3 separate regions of the Homo sapiens genome follow, and regions 1 and 2 are each linked to region 3. The links are contacts of gene promoters, found by promoter capture Hi-C in blood cells and fetal thymus (Javierre and others, 2016). All regions are on one chromosome and are shown on one strand. Each heading gives the region's core, a stretch centred on a gene start or on the middle of the fragment in contact. The rest is flanking DNA. Distances are from core to core; before and after follow the strand shown.

Evidence for each region. The method cuts DNA at HindIII sites, captures the fragments that hold promoters and counts their contacts. A CHiCAGO score of 5 or more calls a contact.
Region 1: a contact is called between a fragment that was not itself captured here and the fragment with the promoter of EFR3A in region 3, in 2 of 17 cell types (fetal thymus and activated CD4 T cells). The highest score is 8.2, in fetal thymus.
Region 2: a contact is called between a fragment that was not itself captured here and the fragment with the promoter of EFR3A in region 3, in 1 of 17 cell types (total CD8 T cells). The highest score is 5.6, in total CD8 T cells.

What each region holds. Positions count from the first base shown.
Region 1 is chr8:134,827,350-134,830,206 of GRCh38, forward strand. It overlaps a transcript of ZFAT not described here. Among named protein-coding and RNA genes, the nearest start is that of NCRNA00250, 9.3 kb to the right of the region's middle. The HindIII fragment of the contact is 4,725 bases long and covers 1-2,857 here.
Region 2 is chr8:134,707,861-134,710,817 of GRCh38, forward strand. All of the region lies in intron 1 of ZFAT (zinc finger and AT-hook domain containing), which reads right to left. Among named protein-coding and RNA genes, the nearest start is that of ZFAT, 3.7 kb to the right of the region's middle. RefSeq lists an enhancer at 1,568-2,251. The HindIII fragment of the contact is 6,003 bases long and covers 1-2,957 here.
Region 3 is chr8:131,902,742-131,905,441 of GRCh38, forward strand. It overlaps EFR3A (EFR3 homolog A), which reads left to right and starts at 1,352. Exons shown (of 23, transcript NM_015137.6): 1 at 1,352-1,581. The coding sequence starts at 1,572. RefSeq lists a silencer at 1,249-1,728 and an enhancer at 2,299-2,348. The HindIII fragment of the contact is 8,534 bases long and covers 1-2,700 here.

The DNA of each region.
Region 1 (2,857 bases), core at 137-2,636, 2.9 Mb after region 3:
TCAGCCTTTCTTATTTTTAAGAACTGTTGCCTACAGTTCTGCAGATCACAAAATCTAAACTTTTTAAAAATCCCATGTAGTGGACATACATATACATATTATTAGATAATATTTTATGCTTAAGAAATCTAGTAAATTGGCTGGGCACGGGCTAACACCTGTAATCCCAGCACTTTGGGGGGCCCAGGAGGGCGGATCACCTGAGGTCAGGAGTTTGAGACCAGCCTGGCCAACATGGTGAAATCCCGTCTCTACTGAAAATACAAAAATTAGACAGGCGTGGTGGTGGGTGCCTGTAATCTCAGCTACTTGGGAGGCTGAGGCAGGAGAATTGCTTGAACCCGGGAGGCGGAGGTTGCATTGAGCCAAAATCGCGCCACTGCACTCCAGCCTGGGTGACAGAGTGAGACTCTGTCTAAAAAAAAAAAAAAAAAAATTCTAGTTAATATTATTTTGAAACCCCAGTTTACATAAAGTATGGTGCACTAATGACTGCATTTTATTGAAAAGAACATTGGGAATAGAAAAATTAAGTGACATTTTAAAAGTGACATTGGCTTAAATAATGAAATTGAGAACATAAATCAGTCTTCACTTCCAATTATAATTTCTAATCATTACCACTAGCCTCACGTATCTTGGCACAAATATTTGTAAACTGCAGTAGTATACTCACCTTTTTTACATGTATTTTTTAAAAATTGTAATTGTGTCCTCATTAATCATAAATCCAATGTAATGTACTTTTTAATCTATGTTCTGAAATTAACAGTCATTTGAGACAGTCCCTTGGGATTTTTTAAAAAATGGAAAACACTTCTTTTAATATCATCTCTTCTTTAATCTTCATTTTTACTCATTTGTTCAATTGAGGAACTAAGAGCCTGTACTAAAAAAATCAATGGCACCATTCAAGCTGTTCCTTCCATTTTTATAATATTCAATTATGCTAAGAGGTATGAAACCGTGCCCAGTATCCCGAAGTTGGGCTTTTGACCCATATTCAGTATTAAAATAATTTCTTGCTTTCTAATGTATAAAAACAAAACAAAATACTATTAAGCATTCTGAAGATATTTTTTACTTCTTGTATGCCCTGATGCTTAGCTCTTATCCTTCAAACCCCTTCTCTAAGAATAAAATTTCTCGAAAACTAGGAAAAGGTGAAGGCGTCACTGTTACCCAAGCCAGGCATGAACAGTATAAATCAAATGAAACTTGATTAGTTATCCTTAATAAAGTTTGCAGCTACTTCCTCCCTTTCCTCCTTATCCCCACATGAAGTACGAACTAACCCACAAATAAGTTCTCCTATTAACTCACATTCCTTTTTTTTCTACATAAGCAAAGCAAAATGATTTCTGAATTAAACTTCCCAAGTACTTCATTCATCATCTCCTGCAATTCCAAATAAACGCAAATGCATTAACACAAAGGGAAAAAACTCCTTTGAAAGAATACATAGTTGTTCTTTTACCAAAATAGCATTTTTCACAAGTGACTCAAACAGAATTACAGCTTAGGAAAATCAAGCCTTTAATTCTGAAGAATAATTTGCACCTACAGAAAATTTCAAGGTAACGGTTTTTACTGCTTGTGGACTTTAGACCAAATCTACTTATTTTGATTTTGCTGAAGTTTGGGTATAACTGCTTGTTGGCCTCTGCTGGGGGACCACTGTCCTAGTGAGAGTGTCTGACAACAAGGTGCTTTTGATACTCCACTAACTAAACTACCTTGGATGAGGTTCCTGACAAACCTGATCATAAAGTTTTACTCAATGGTGAAAAGCATTTTAATTAGGCTTCAATGTACTCCTTAAATCAGGCTTGTCCAACCCATGGCCCAGGACAGCTTTGAATGAGGCCCAACACAAATGTGTAAACTTTCTAAAAATATGAAATTTTTGTTGCAATTTTTTAAGCTCATTAGTTATTGTTAATGCATTTGATGTGTGGCCCAAGACAATTCTTCTTCTTCCAACGTGGCCCGGGGAGGCCAAAAGATTGGACACCGCTGCCTTAAATGATATGGGATAAATCAGATGACAATTTTCCCACTCAGTTAAACCATTATAGGTGGCATATAAGTGGAACAACACTGAATTTAACTTTGTCCCCAAATACTTTTGGTAAAGAGAGAACTCAAAGAACACACTGATAACCCTTACATATGCCAAAAATCTGTTCCTAAATTGTTGTATGCCAACTGATTATTCACAAATCAAATCACATTAGATAAATACCATTTAAAGGGATTAAGTATTTGAAAACAACTTTTAGTGAATCCCTTTTTTAAAATTCTCACATAATATAACCAACTAGTAATTAATTTGTTTTGCAATCTTACACTTTTAAATGTCAAATTTCTTAAAGTAGAGCACAGCTGTTTTCATAAGCTGAAACATTCACATCACATTACTGCCCTTCTTTCTAGTGCCCCTCAAGCAAGCTCTAAAAATGTCACCCAAAAAATGAGTTGTTCACCTGTGGTAGAATATACAAGAAATACTAGAAAAATTGAAAAATAAGCAATTCTTAAAAATGTAATATAGAAATGTGTGTATAGTATTTCAAAAAAAGTCAAAGAATTATTTTATTTTTGGCCATGATCACAATAAACGCTCGATAAAAATGATTTTTTAAAAAACCAAGATACGCACAGCCCAAATCACTTTCCCATGTGTTTTTACCACCTGGAGTAAACCGTTCAAGAACTGTTTATCTCCATGAACATATGACCTCCACGATGCCACCAAGGTCAACAAGACCTACAGGAGGGGGACATGCTAAGTGTTGATTTGTCCAATTCTACAGTTCCCTTGAAAAAGAGAGAAGAGAGAAAAACATAAAAATTT
Region 2 (2,957 bases), core at 202-2,701, 2.8 Mb after region 3:
TTTGAAACCAGTATATTGAAAGGAATGACTGAACCATGTTCACTGTTGTGCTATTCACAATAGTCAAGTATGGAATCGGCCTCAGTGGCCAACAACACATGAATGATTTTTTTAATGTGGGACATATACACAACGGAATATTATTCAGCTGTAAAAAAGAAATGTTGTCGTTTGTGACAACATGGATGAAACTGGAGAACACTGTCCTAAGTAAAATATGCCAGCACAGAAGGACAAACACTGCATGTTTTCTCTTACATGTGAACTCTAAAACAATGGAGCTCAAAGAAGCAGAGAGTAGAATGGTGGGTACCAGAGCCTGAAGGTGTAGGAAGAAATGATGATCAAAGGCTACAAAGCCTCAATTAGACAAGAGGAATCGTTTTTTTCTTTGAGACATATTGCACAGCATGGTGAATACAGTAATAACGTACATTTCAAATTTGCTAAGAGTAAATTTTAAATGTTTACTTACCACAAAATGATAACTATTTGAGCTGATGGATATGTTAATTAGCTTGATTTAATTATTCCACATTATACTCATAAATCATAACATCACATTATACCCCGTAAAGAAACAAATATGTCGTTACAGTTTTTTTAATTTAAAAAAAGATTATGTTACCCAATTTTAAGTCCGTGTTTTTCTATAAATATGCCAAGCATTATCTTTATAAGTAAACTCAATCATCTATATATTTTGTGTTCCTTGAAAAAAAAGGAGGCAACTTTAAATCTGTAAGATGTTTAAAATGTCTATTTTGTTTTGCTCTGCTTTTTCTTTTCTCTTTTAAAAAAAAATTACTCGGCCAGGCACAGCGGCTCACGTCTGTAATACTGGCACTTTGGGAGGCTGAGGCAGGCGGATCACCTGAGGTCAGGAGTTGGAAACCAGCCTGACCAACATGGTGAAACCCCACCTCTACTAAAAGTACAAAATTAGCGAGGCGTGGTGGCGCATGCTTATAATCCCAGCTACTTGGGAGGCTGAGGCAGGAGAATCGCTTGAGCCCAGAAGGCAGAGGTTGCAGTGAGCCAAGATCACACCATTGTGCTCCAGACTGGGCAAAGAGCAAAACTCCGTGCCAATAAATTAATTTAATTTAATTTTTAAAAATGACTTATTTAAAAAAAATTACTCGGCTGGGCACAGTGACTCAAGCCTATAATCCTAGCATTTCAGGAGGCCGAGGCCAGTGGATCTCTTAGGCTGAGTTCAATACCAGCCTGGTCAACCTGGTGACACCCCATCTCTACAAAAAATACAAAAATTAGCCAGGTGTGGTGGTGCACCCCTGTAGTCCCAGCTATTCAGGAGGCTGATGTGGGAGGGTGGCCTGAGCCTGGGAGTCTCTGCCTTTCCATCCACAAATGCTTTCAAGAAGAGAGTGGATGACAATGTACTGAGCTGTACACTGGGAAGTCTGGTTCTGGGAAGGGAAGAGACAAACCCCATTTCCTGAATGCCATCAGCAGCCACCTGTGGCAGGACTGTGTCTCCTTTGCCGGTGAAGGGACTGGGGTCCCAAGGGTTCTGTGACTTCCCTTAGGTCAGGAATCTGGTGAGAGGCAGATCTCTGGAGCCAGAGCACGTGCTCTTTCTACCCTCCTAAATGTTCCAGCCCTTAAAGTTGATGCCTGCCCTTGAGAAATTGCAAATCAGTGAAACTTTAACAGGGTAAACAGCTGAGAAGAGAGGGAAAACTTAACTCTAGGCTAAATCTCTTTTACGTAATTAAATCAGCCCATCTTGGTGCAGAGTTTTTCAGAGGCTGTATGCTTGAAACTATCTACAAAGGGAAATGCAATTAAGGAGACTTTTTAATATATCTGATTCTTGACTGCCCTTGCTCTAGGCAAGAGCTTAATTCTACTTAACAATAGCTATCTTGCAAAAGTTATGTAAATTGCAAGGTATGGGGAGAAAAGAAACAGGAATCCTTTCACCGGAGGCAAATGAGAAGCCCACTGAGAAGGGAGCACTGCGGTAAGACGGCTCCAATTCACACAATGACCATCTCAGCTCATTTGCCACCTACAGCTGTGCCCTGTAGACCACATGCAACTCCACCTCCTTATCATTCATTGTACTCCCTTTCCTAAATTAACCAAAACAGGAAACTCTTTTCAGAAATTAGCTGACCATGAGTTGACAGTAACACATTTTAAAATATGATCTTTTCTCATTTGGTACAGCTGGAAATTGAAGGAAACTTCAACATATGTCCAGGGTTCTTTTTTAAAACTCTTGGGTAAATTCCAGAAGTGGAGAAGTGGGCAACTCATTCTCTCTATATAAGCAACAACGTGGGAGGAGGAAGGCACCAATCGAAAAGATATTTCACGTTTATCAAAATGGAGTCACTCATGTCAAACTCTAACAAAATGGAGCCAGAGGATAGGAAGGAAGGGCCCTCATGCAAGTATGCCTATGACAGGAACTATGCCAGGAATTCCTTAGAGCCTGTTACTTGCACAGGACACTTGCCTGGTGCACCTGTCTCCAATGGACTAATGCCAGCTCCTGCAATAAACCTCTGAAACCAATGGTCTTTGTTTCAAAACCGCTTAGGTGGACTTCCCTTTTGGGTCTTTAAAAGTTTCCATTTGCCCCAACTTCTTTGGACGTACCTATGATCCAGCATAGCGCATGTATCTAAATTGCAATCCCCTATTATTCCCAAATAAACTACAGTTTCAGGATCCCATATCCAAAATGCTTGGGACCAGAAGTTTTAGAATTCCAGATGTTTTTGGATTTTGGAATATTTGCATATACATAGTGAGATAACCTGAGGATGGGACCCAAGTCTAAACATGAAATTTATTTATGTTTGATGTGCACCTTATACACACAGTCTGAAGGTAATTTTACAATATTTTTAATTTTGATCATGAAACAAAGTGTACAATGAACCATCAGAAAGCAAAGGTGTCACTATCTCAGCCACACA
Region 3 (2,700 bases), core at 102-2,601:
AGATGGAGTCTTGCTCTGTAGCCCAGGCTAGAGTCCAGTGGCCCGATCTCGGCTCACTGCAAACTCCGTCTCCTGGGTTCAAGCGATTCTCCTTCCTCAGCTTCCCAAGTAGCTGAGTGAGAATATAGGCATGTGCCACCACCCCCGCCTAATTTTTGCATTTTCAGTACAGACAGGGTTTCGCCATGTTGGCCAGGCTGATCTCGAACTCCTGACCTCAGGTGATCTGCCCACCGCCCACCTCGGTCTCCCAAAGTGTTAGGATTACAGGCGTGAGCCACCGTTCCCAGCTGGACAGTCTCTTTTATAGGTACAGTACACACTCTCCTCTCCCCAGCTGCCATGACTCACTCTAAATTACCCTTCATCCTCTCCCCAGCCTCTTTTAGGACTCCCCTAGGCTTTGCTAATTCAAATTCTGCTTTCTTCCAAGTCCACCTCAAGCCAAGACTAATTTCTCCTCAGCGCTTCCTAGCTCTGATCTTCATGTTCTTCATCTTCTCCTCCCAGTACTGCACAATATCATTTCTTAATCAGAAGGTTAGCCCTACTTTTTAGGACAAAGGTTCTCAGTATTATCATTGTATTTAAATCATCTGTATATGTGTTCGTAGATTTGGCTCAGCACCTAGGAATCTGCTTTTCAACAAGTCCCCAGGGGATCCAAGCACAAAAGGATCCTGGACCACTTTGACCCACTTTGAGGAAGGCTGTGTTAAACCTCTGCGGTTGGCTTTTATATCTCCATATGGGCTGTCCGCAGCCCACGGCGCCTAGCATAGTGTAGGTGCGTTGCTCAGCTCTCTGGCTCCCGGTGTCTGCTCAGCTTGGTGACTATTAGATACCTCAATTATTAATGACACCCAGAGTCAAGAAGAGTAGCTCAGCCAAGTGCACAGAGCTGCCCTCTCCAGAGGAGACTAACTCCTGAGGGATAAGGTCGCTCTGAAAGTCACAAGAGCAAAAGGAAATTACATTTTCTGCCCTCTCAAAAAATGAGCAGCCATCACCCCAAATGACCTTAGTGCATCTCAAATAAACCATGCTTTCAGAGTATGCAAAACGCACTGCAAGTTAAACCGATTGCAAAAGAAAAAGCCCACAGGTACTCCGTGCGCTCAAAGCCATCATCCTCACAAACGTAAAGTGATGCACTCCAAATAGAGATCAAGGAAAACGAATGCCACGCAGGTCACCAGGCTTGGAAAATAGAAGGCACCCGAAGTTGTTCTACGTGGCTGTCCCCAGCCACCCATTCCACCCGCTCGACAAGGGATCCTGGGCCGAGCCCGGCCATCCGCGGGGGCGGGGCCGGGACGGCGGCGGCGCGCTGACGTAACGGGCGTGGGTCGTCCGTCGCGCCGCCCGGCGAGGAGTGGGCTGGCGGCGGTAGCTGTCGCCCGCTTGGTTGCGTGACCGCGGGGTCCGCGTCCGCTCCCTCCACCCTTCGCCCTTCGCCCTTCGCCTCGTTCCGGCCTCCGCGGCCCAGCAACGGCCGTCATGGTGCCGTCGGCGCTCCCTGCGCGGCCCCGCTGAGCCTCGGTGCGGCGGCGAGCGCGGTCGAGATCGCCATGCCTACCCGTGAGTGGCCGGCCGAGGGCCGGGGGCGTTGGGAGGCGACTGCCTGCGCGACGCGCTTGGGCCGGGTACTCCTCCCGGGCGGCTGGGGAGGCTGGGCCGCGCTGAGCAGAGCCAGGAAGTGTCTGCGAGCGGCGGAGTTAGTTTCGTTTCGGCTTAGCCTTCCGGAGATGGCGTGAGCCCGTTGCACGGATCGGGAAACTGAGGCCCGAACGTTAAGGGAACTGCGGGGACGCGCTGTTAGGAGGCGGCAGAGCTGGTGGTAACCTGACCCGTGGGATTTCAAAGTTAAAGCCCTTTTCCCACGGCCACACGGCTTCGTGGGACTTTATGGAAATATTGAAAATAACTGCGGTACCATTGTCAGTCCCTTCTCACCTCGGGCCGGACGTCGCTAGTGGACGCGCCGGCCCCGAGTCCCTTCCCGCGGCCGCCAGACAGACCCCCGACAGCCTAACTCGGCGTCCGTATCGCCGTCGGGGCGGCTGAAGTCGGAGCTTTCTGTGGAGCTTGTTAGGCAGAGGCACCTCGACTGTGGCTTTTGGACCACACTTCGGATTCACCCGGGCAGATGATTAAAAATGCCGGTTTCGGGACCCGCCCTATTCCCATGGAATTAGTCTGGAGCTTGGGCCCCGGAGTCTGCATGTCTAATAAGCGTCCCTGGGGTTACCAAGGCACCCCAAAGTTTAAAAGTCACTCGGTGTTGGAGGATTTTTAGACAGACGCGATACTACAAGTACTGCTAATGACCTATTTTAAAATGACCCAGATAATCGCAGTGTGACTTTATAGCCACTGGTCAATGTGGATATGTGCAAACTAGGGAAGCTCCTGATCTTGGGTAGAGAGGAAGCAACTTTGTCATTGATTTGAGAATTCAAGTAGGACTCCTTTGACTAAGTGTTCAATACTATAGAATCTTTACACACTTGTGAATATATTTCCTAGAATTCATAACTACTTCTAGTTGTCCTTGTTTTGTAGCCATCTGGGACGCTGAATTTCCAGGTCAGTCTCCAATGCACGTTTCGTCTAGTGGTGGGAAAAGATGAGTTATTTCTTGATATTATAAAGATTGATATTTTCCTGATATTTAAGGATATTAAATTTAAATTGATA